Regions from separate parts of the Homo sapiens genome. Here region 2 is linked to region 1. The links are contacts of gene promoters, found by promoter capture Hi-C in blood cells and fetal thymus (Javierre and others, 2016). All regions are on one chromosome and are shown on one strand. The core of a region is centred on a gene start or on the middle of the fragment in contact, and the rest is flanking DNA. Distances in the headings are between cores, read along the strand shown.

What was found. Contacts are between HindIII fragments. The CHiCAGO score rates a contact against its expected background, and 5 or more counts as called.
Region 2: a contact is called between a fragment that was not itself captured here and the fragment with the promoter of CDKN2A-AS1 in region 1, in 3 of 17 cell types (M0 macrophages, naive B cells and total B cells). The highest score is 5.6, in M0 macrophages.

The regions. Positions count from the first base shown.
Region 1 is chr9:21,963,903-21,968,388 of GRCh38, reverse strand. It overlaps CDKN2A-AS1 (CDKN2A antisense RNA 1), which reads right to left and starts at 1,250. Exons shown (of 1, transcript NR_024274.1): 1 at 635-1,250. It overlaps CDKN2A (cyclin dependent kinase inhibitor 2A), which reads left to right. Exons shown (of 3, transcript NM_000077.5): 3 at 147-637. The coding sequence ends at 160. The HindIII fragment of the contact is 10,554 bases long and covers 1-4,486 here.
Region 2 is chr9:22,449,931-22,454,682 of GRCh38, reverse strand. DMRTA1 (DMRT like family A1) reads right to left here. Exons shown (of 2, transcript NM_022160.3): 2 at 1-3,619. The coding sequence ends at 2,772. Among named protein-coding and RNA genes, the nearest start is that of DMRTA1, 5.5 kb to the right of the region's middle. The HindIII fragment of the contact is 7,087 bases long and covers 1-4,752 here.

The sequences.
Region 1 (4,486 bases), core at 1-2,500:
GGCGGGTACATGCACGTGAAGCCATTGCGAGAACTTTATCCATAAGTATTTCAATGCCGGTAGGGACGGCAAGAGAGGAGGGCGGGATGTGCCACACATCTTTGACCTCAGGTTTCTAACGCCTGTTTTCTTTCTGCCCTCTGCAGACATCCCCGATTGAAAGAACCAGAGAGGCTCTGAGAAACCTCGGGAAACTTAGATCATCAGTCACCGAAGGTCCTACAGGGCCACAACTGCCCCCGCCACAACCCACCCCGCTTTCGTAGTTTTCATTTAGAAAATAGAGCTTTTAAAAATGTCCTGCCTTTTAACGTAGATATATGCCTTCCCCCACTACCGTAAATGTCCATTTATATCATTTTTTATATATTCTTATAAAAATGTAAAAAAGAAAAACACCGCTTCTGCCTTTTCACTGTGTTGGAGTTTTCTGGAGTGAGCACTCACGCCCTAAGCGCACATTCATGTGGGCATTTCTTGCGAGCCTCGCAGCCTCCGGAAGCTGTCGACTTCATGACAAGCATTTTGTGAACTAGGGAAGCTCAGGGGGGTTACTGGCTTCTCTTGAGTCACACTGCTAGCAAATGGCAGAACCAAAGCTCAAATAAAAATAAAATAATTTTCATTCATTCACTCATTTATTGTCAACATTTATTGAGCACCTATTACAACAATTTCATCGCATGGAAGACAGCATCGTTTCTGACACTGTTGTTTCATGTATCTCTTAGAAAAACGCTGCTATTAGACATCTAACACTATTTATCTTGAGGTGATAAAATATCAAAAGCCGTGTCTCAAGATCGATGAAATGCGGTTAAAATGATGAATAGAAACTCTAGGGGGACCTCATATCGATAGACTCGAGACTGGCACATCTGGAGATCCGTATTTATCCGGCTTCCCCTTCCAGATCACGCGAGGTTTGGGATATTTTGCTCACCAGGCCTCAGCCAGGTAACTGAATCCAGCCAACCCTGGCCCATAGTCTCGGAATCCGACTCGGCTCCCAGTCCCCGCCTCGGCGTTCTGAGACCCCCAGGCTGGGGTTCCAGAGGGCTGTGAGGTTGCGAATGACTGCTGCCAAACCGGAAGGAACTCTGCGGTTCTCTGCCACAGTGGGATTGTTGCAGGCACGCGGCTCAGACTTCACTGAGGTTGGGAGATGCTCCTGTCCACGCTGCCTCATCCCGTGCTGGAGCACTGCACCTCTATTTTTTTTTTTAGGGTACACGCCACATAACATAAAACTAAAAATTTTAAAGAGTAGAATTCAGTGGCATTTAGTACAATGTTATGCAACCATCACTCCTATCTAGCCCAAAACATTTTCGTCAACTGCATAGGAGGCCCCATTAAGCATACCTGTTAAACTCTTCTTGCCTCCAACTCCTGGCAACTACAAAACTCCTTTTGTCTCTATGGATTTACCTATTCTGAATATTTCTTATAAATGGGATCATACAATATGTGACCTTCCGTGTCTGGCTTCTTTCACCAAGTGTAGTGTTTTGGGGGTTCATTCCTGCTGCAGCATGTATCAGTACCTCATTTCATTTTATGGCTGAATCATATTCCATTGTATGAATATACTGGAAATTGCTCGTCTACTCATCCAGTGATGAACATCGAGTTGTTTTTTGGCTTAAAATTATTCATAGTGTTCTCATATAAATATAAATATGTAATTATTATTTTTATCCATATTTATTACATTATTTATATTTTTATATTTTTATTGTATTATAATAATTTTATAATATTATACTATGATAATATAACAGACTGACTCCTATGGTCTGTCAGTGTGCTCTTCCACTGGCGTGCTCCCTTCCGCTGGGGTGCCCCGCTCCACGTCCAGTTCCTCCGATGAGTTCCTCTGGACATAGAGCCGCTTGTGTGTCTGCCTGCTAGGGTCTCAGGGTTTTCATAGGCAAAGGATGGGGGCGTGGCGGGACAGGGTGGTCTTGGGATATGCAACATTTGGGCGTGAAGGAAGGAGTGCCTGTCCTCACCTAGGTCCAGTGGGCACAGGCCCAGGGGAGGGCCCTTACCAGGGACCCGCCTTTGTCTACCCAACACTTCCCTGCCCCTCTTCTCTATCATTGCGTTTCAGTTACCTTTGCCTTGGTTCAGCACTCACTTGGTTGCTGTAAAACTTTCTTACTGTTTCCCAGAGTTCCCACGAAGTCAATTCTGGCAGCTTTTGCTTATTTTTCTGTGTTTCTATATAGGAATGGGCCCTGCGAGCTCACTACTGTGCCACTTTTGCTATTATCTTTTGTTGTTGTTGTTGTTCAATTTGTTTTGTTTTAGGGCAGGATGGTCAAATGCTTATGATGTGCCAATTTCCTGCCTCCATATATCTCCTGTGCCTGGTACGCAGTGCCCATGCCCGGCATCCTCACTTTCTGGGCATCTGTCTGTCAACATTTCTCTGAAGCTCGCTAGCTCTACCACTCAGCTGTCCCCCTGAAAATTTTCTCCACCTTCCCCCGCAGCTGTAGGAAGCTCACCTTCCTCCTTACCCTTCCTCAACCCCACTCCTGTTCTCTCCCTTTTTCCCCCTTCCACCCCCATTTCCCCGACTTCTGCTGGGGGTGGGAGGGATAACCGATTCACAGACATTCCCCTCCCCCTCGCCGCTTCTCGGGAGATTGCTGGTTCGCAGTCCTACGCTCCACTCGCCAGCAGGCTCCGCTGTGGTGTGAGCACCTCCGGGAGCGCAAAGGCGTCCGCTTTGAGGCACTGGGCCTCGGGCCAGGCAGAGGCTATCTCCGGGACCCTTTTATGGAGATCTGCTGTTAAAGCCCACGCGTGTTTCCCGAGCACACTGAGCACACGCATACTGGGCCTGACGACTCCAGGGAGGGACCTGCTCCGGAACCGCGGACTAGACCCGGGTCCCAGAACTACCCGTGGAGGAGGCCGCAGTAACCTCCGAAGCAGGCTGAGAGACTCGGGTGGGCTTTCTCCAGTGAAAAAAAAGAAGCCAGAGGGGAAGGGTAGATGGAGCAGGAAAGAAGGACGGATTCTAAGCATGGCTGTTCGAGGCCCTGAGGCTGCAGAACTGACTGCGGGACTGCGGTTTGGAGGCGGGGACTTTCCAAAACCACGGACGAAAGAAACCTCCCAACCAACCGATTAAGCACGGGGGCTGTGGAGCAGAAGGGCAATAAAAGGCCCTGCCCACCGAAACCTGTAAAAGTTTCCTTTGTAAGCACGCGTCACGAGCGCGGGTGACGAGGCCCAGGCGCGCCCGGGTGCGGCGACCTCGGAGCCCGCGGGACGGGAGAGCAGCCCTTCCTTTGGCCGGGCCTCCAGCACCAAAACTGGCTGGGATCCTTCCTGGGGCCCACGCCAGTGCCACACCCCAAGTACTCTGGATGCAGGCCAGGTGGGAGGGTCTTCACCTCCACCTCCTTCCAGATCTCACGTGTCTCATTTACGTAATAAAGTTCAGGAAATAGCAGAAAACAACTTTTTTTTTTTTTTTTTTTTTTTTGAGACGGAGTCTTTCTCTGTCGCCCAGGCTGGAGTGCAGTGGTGCGATCTCGGCTCACTGCAACCTCCGCCTCCCGGGTGCAAGCGATTCTCCTGCCTCAGCCTCCTCAGTAGCTGAGATTACAGGCGCCCGCCACAACACCTTTTTAGTAGAGACGGATTTTCACCATTTTGGCCAGGCTGATCTCGAACTCCTGACCTCAAGTGGTCCGCCCTCCTCGACCTCCCAAAGTGTTGGGATTACAGGCCTTAGCCACCGTGCCGGTCCAGAAAAGCACATTTAAAAACTACAGATTGATATCCTTGTTGGGCATTGATGCTAAAATCCTTAACAAAATACTAGCTAACAGAATCCAACAACATATCAAAAAATAATCCACCATGACATGATCAAGTGGGTTTCATACCAGGAATGTAGGGATGATTTAACATATGTGATACACCACGAAAACAGAATTAAAAACAAAACATCACATGATCATCTCAATAGATGCAGAAAAAGCATTTGACAAAATTCAGCATCCTGTTATGATTAAAACTCTCAGCAAAATTGGCATACAAGGGACATACCTTAATGTAATAAAAGCCATCTATGAAAACCCACAGCCAACATAATACTGAATGGGAAAAGTTGAAAGCATTTCCTCTGAAAACTGGAACAAGGATGCCCACTCTCACCACTCCTCTTCAACATAGTACTGGAAGTTCTAGCCAGAGCAATCAGATGAGAGAGAAAAATAAAAAGGGTATCCAAATCAGTAAAAAGGAAGTCAAACTGTCACTGTTTGCTGATGATATGATCGTTTACCTTGAAAACCCTAAGGACTCCTCCAGAAAGCTACTAGAATTGATAAAAGAATTCAGCAAAGTTTCTGGATACAAGATTAGTGTATACAAATCAGTAGCTCTTCTATACACAAACAGCGACCAAGCAGAAAATCAAATCAAGAACTTAACCCCTTTTACAGTAGCGGCAAAAAAA
Region 2 (4,752 bases), core at 1,562-4,061, 480 kb before region 1:
TAAAGCATTTACCCCCTCTTTCTTCCCACCACTAATTAGTGGCTTAGGAGTTCAGGCTTCAAGCAGCATCCATGGATATAAATATCAAGATTACAAAGAACTCATTGATGTACCAACACTGTCAAATAATACCAACATTGGTTGATTGGTTGTTTTTGTACACACAATATAGACCGTGAGCAACTTGAGGCAAAGTCTTGTATCTTAATCATTTCTTTATCTCTTGTGTCTAACACAGTGCATGGCACAAATAGATTATTAAAAATATTAAATAGGTGTTGAATGAAGAAATTATTAAGCTAATACTTGCTTTTATTTTTTTTCAGTCAGTGGAAATCTAGTGTATAGGTTGAGAACCTATATCAGACACTGTTCAAGGCCATGAATGAAAAAAACAGACATGAATCCTTCCTCAGACATTGGAGTCTGAAATTGCTGAAGTGAGCACAGTAATTCCACTGCAGATGACTCATATTACTAACCTTAGGGAGAAAAAACCCTACTGCTGAGCCCCAATTTCCTCATATACTACTGAGTTGTTAGACAAATGACCTATTTGATAAGATTAAGTCCTTAAATTATTATAAAGAGTATGGAATGTGTAAGGCATTATATAAATTAAGTTTTATGATTATAAAACTATTTTATAAATTCGAATACTGCCCAAAATGGATGTTCTCCCAAGGTCAAAAGCAATTCAGTTTCTCAGATACAAGCACATCATTATAAAACCACATACATAATGCAGTAACTCTAGGATTTTTTTTTAAACCATATCTCTATTGTATAATGTAACTTCCTTTAGAGCACAATATTTTACATTCAGTATCCTCTACAGGATCTAGCACTTTTCAGAAAAATAGCATTCAATAAGTGGATTAATGCAATAGAAACAACTGAAGAATCACCAAGGAATCTAACCTGAATACCATTTAGGAGATTCAAGAACCCAGTGAAATTGTATGCAAAACTGTGTGTCTGTACGCCATTTTGTAGAGTTCTTCAGTTTTATCAGAGTCTCAAAGAGATCTATTATATATAAGAGTTTCTTACTCAGTATATATGAATTGAATTTCAACTACTTGCTAGACATTGTACTACGGTTTAGGCTTAGAATATAAAACTTTTTTATAATAAATGAATATTGAGTACATCGAAATTTTTCAAGATCTGCTTTCTTATATTCACACCATTAAAATTAATGCATAACCTAATAAACACATTTACATCCTAAATCAGCATCAGATACTCTGAAGTAATTTAATATCACATTTGCTGGCAAAATATTCCTTGGAAATACATTCTTACTGGCTTCATGAAAAACGCCTCCATGATAATATAACCTATAGGGGTTTAATGTATGTCTACATAGACTTATATATGTGCATATAGATGCATACACACATACGTATATACATATAATTTAAAAAATCTTTAGTGAGTCATGCTGCTTAAATAGTTTAAACAATCTCTAATTCATCAACTATCTTTTACCACCAGTGGGCTTCCATTTATTCCTAATAATAACAATGAAGCTACTGTCCTTCAAAAAAGAAAAATGATGACATACAAAGAAAATGTCCTAGAAACTGTTTTGTAAGCAGTTTCCTCAGGGACTTTCCACTGACTGAAATAAATAGTTTTCAAATGCGCCAGAGGGAGGACAAAAATTATTTTTAAAATTGCAAGAATACCTCTGAAACTTCATGGCAGTTTTTCCCCTTTGGAAATCTTATATCTCTCCTCAGTGCATTAAGCATCAACTATCTGCAGTTAATAAATATTTATTTGAGCAGCTATTTTAGTTTTCTGAATAAAATTATTCTTACCTTTGAGAATGGCTGCCATATATTCTTGTCCCAAACTTTTAAGGATATTTCCCCAGATACAGACATAAGCACACTTAAAGACTGCAACTCTCATCCACAGTAGATGTGCACTTTACAGTATGGAAATTTTAATGTAGTATAATCCAAAATGACTATTTGAAAAAAAAATGGTTATTCTCCGGAATCAATGTTTCTAATTCATATACTCTACAGAGCTCAGTTGCAATTGGCGATAGTGGCCAGGAGATGGCGCAGTCTTATTTCCTAAAATTTACTTCATAGACACAGTGTCAACTTTAAAGAGAAATGTTTTTTAATGGCACTTGTTTTCACTCATGGAAGCTAAGATTGAAAAATAAAATACTCAGGAAATATAAATTCAAAATGCTCAAATGTTTTATTTATTACGAATCACCCATCTGCAAATCAAATGCTTTAAAAATACTTTGAATAACTTTTTTCTTTCCTATGAACCAGGAATAGAAGAAACAGTTTTGAAATGGTAATTATTTAGAATTGCCTTAATTGTTCAGTTCTTCCTTTCGGTTTATATTCTATTCTATTATGCTGTATTGCTTTACACTTACAAATGTATTTTATCACTAAAAATTCCACTTTTCAATAAAATAAAAACTAGTTTTAAAATAAAAATGTTTACAAATGATAATTTAGGGAGAAAATTCATTAAATATTTCCTGAAATAGCTTTATTCAAGGCACATATAATGTTCAGATTTACTTCTTTCACTTGATAAATCCTAATGAAGAGTTTTCAGATCTAAGACCTATTATATTGCTTGAAAAAAAAAAAACCCAGCATTTTAAGACCTCATAATCCACTCACATACTTACTGAAGTATATTAATGGATGTGTGTGTATGTGTGTGCACGTGCATGTATTGTATGCTGGAAAAACTCCAGAAAGAGAGAATGGGCATATACATTACGGATTGTCCTGATTTGGTCTGAAGTACAGTCTGCCACAAGTTATTGAGTCTTTACTGGAAAGGTAGGAAGAATCTCTAATCATCCCTGAAAAGGCATAATCCAAAGCTGGCCGAAAAGGTAAGGTTGGTACTAACCCAGGTGTTAGGTAGGGTGACATAAAACCAGATAACCCTCTTCCTGCAGAAGAATATGCCAGCCTTAATGGACTGATACCTACTCTAGGATTTACGCCGTAGAGACTTGAATCACCTCCATAAGAAGCAGAAGTAGTTTGAAGAGGAGAGAAAGCTGATTTATTACCTAGAGTTCCAAAACCAATTCCAGCAAGACTAAAACTTGAAGCTCTCTGAAAGGCTGTGTTTTCCAGTTCTTCTGAGTTTGCTAGGTTCCTGTTGTCTGGCTTGTGTTCTTTGCCATTTAAAACCTGTTCAATGGCTTGGACCACATCCCCTTTGCAGAACCGTAGAATGCCTTCTAGCCGGCTGCGCCTGTAATTTGGGAAAATCTTAGTAAGGATATCAAGAGGATCTCTTGGTCTTGAGGACACTGTCGGAAGGCTTGCCTTGGTCGCAGTCAAGTCTTTGACCCATTCACTTTCATTTCCTGATTCCAGATCAGAGGATGATAAGGACCTGGGACTCTCTTCACCTCCTGATTGCTCTCCAGGATGAGGAGACAGGATACTATCAGGCTTGTTGGAGTATTCTGAAATAGATGACCCGATACTTTGTTTCCCAATGACACCATTAGACCTAGAAGATGATCCTAGGTAAAGCTGATGGGATTTGGAGATCAGTTCTTCTTGTCCATTCTGGCATGACTCACATTTACTCTCTTTTTGTTCTGGAGAAGAGGGGGAAAAAAAAATCAAATACAGGGAAGACTTCCCAGAATGTGGTACTGCTCACTCAAAAATAATGCTGGATAATATAATTAATTCACTCCTATTAATTAGTAATATTTATACACTCCAAGACATTTTAATGAATAACTCAAATTTAAAAGATTATTCAGAAATGCAGGTGCTGGAATAGTGAAAAGTATACTATTATATCATCTCAGAATCACAAAGGTATGCAATATTAAAATGCAATTATATTTAGGAATCAGAAGATGAGAGTGTATTGTTACCCCAAATTGTCTGCATAACACCAATATGGCACACTGTCTGTTCTATCTTGGTTGTGTGGGATCTTCCTAAATGTCACCTAAGTTTTGTTGTTATCTAAGTGATATTTTTTCAGAATGACACTATGGAAAGAGAACTGAATAAAATGAATAAGGAATAAAAGGAATAATCTTAGTTTGAAAATGAATATTCTATTTAATCACTAATGCTAAATTTTAACAATTGGTTTTTTATCTCATATTTCAGGTTATAATTAATTTACTTGAATAATGTAAAAAAAAACTGTTCATTTCATTTCAGATTTAAACCAATAAGTACTATTGCTATGTCAATCCCAAATCATACTAGAGCTTGCATATTTCATTTTATGAGAGATGACACAGACGGTATTTTTCATAATCCTCTATGAAATGTACTTTCTTTTTCAATCCTTAAGAAATATCAATAACAGACTTTAAAAGCAAATTGTTTGTAAAAGAAAATTATAAACTGTCCTATTGCAATCTACACAAATCCTCAAATTGTCTTTTAAAAACAACATATTAGGCATTTGCTTTAAATCACAGCCCTCCTCCAATGTTAGGGGCAATTTTCCAAAAGTACTTTTACACAAAGTTCTGGTTTTTCTATCTCAACATGTTGAGCATATTAATCAAACAAGAATATGTTAATACCCTTTACTAGGTTAACACCACAAAAATTAAAATAGCCATATTTACTATGTAACTTTTACTTTGGTTTACATTTTCTATTACCCTAGAGATATATAGGTAAGAGTAAACTGTTAAGTGGAGTGTGCAGAGTAATTCTGTCCAACTTCCTTTTTCTACCAAGTTTATGAATGTCA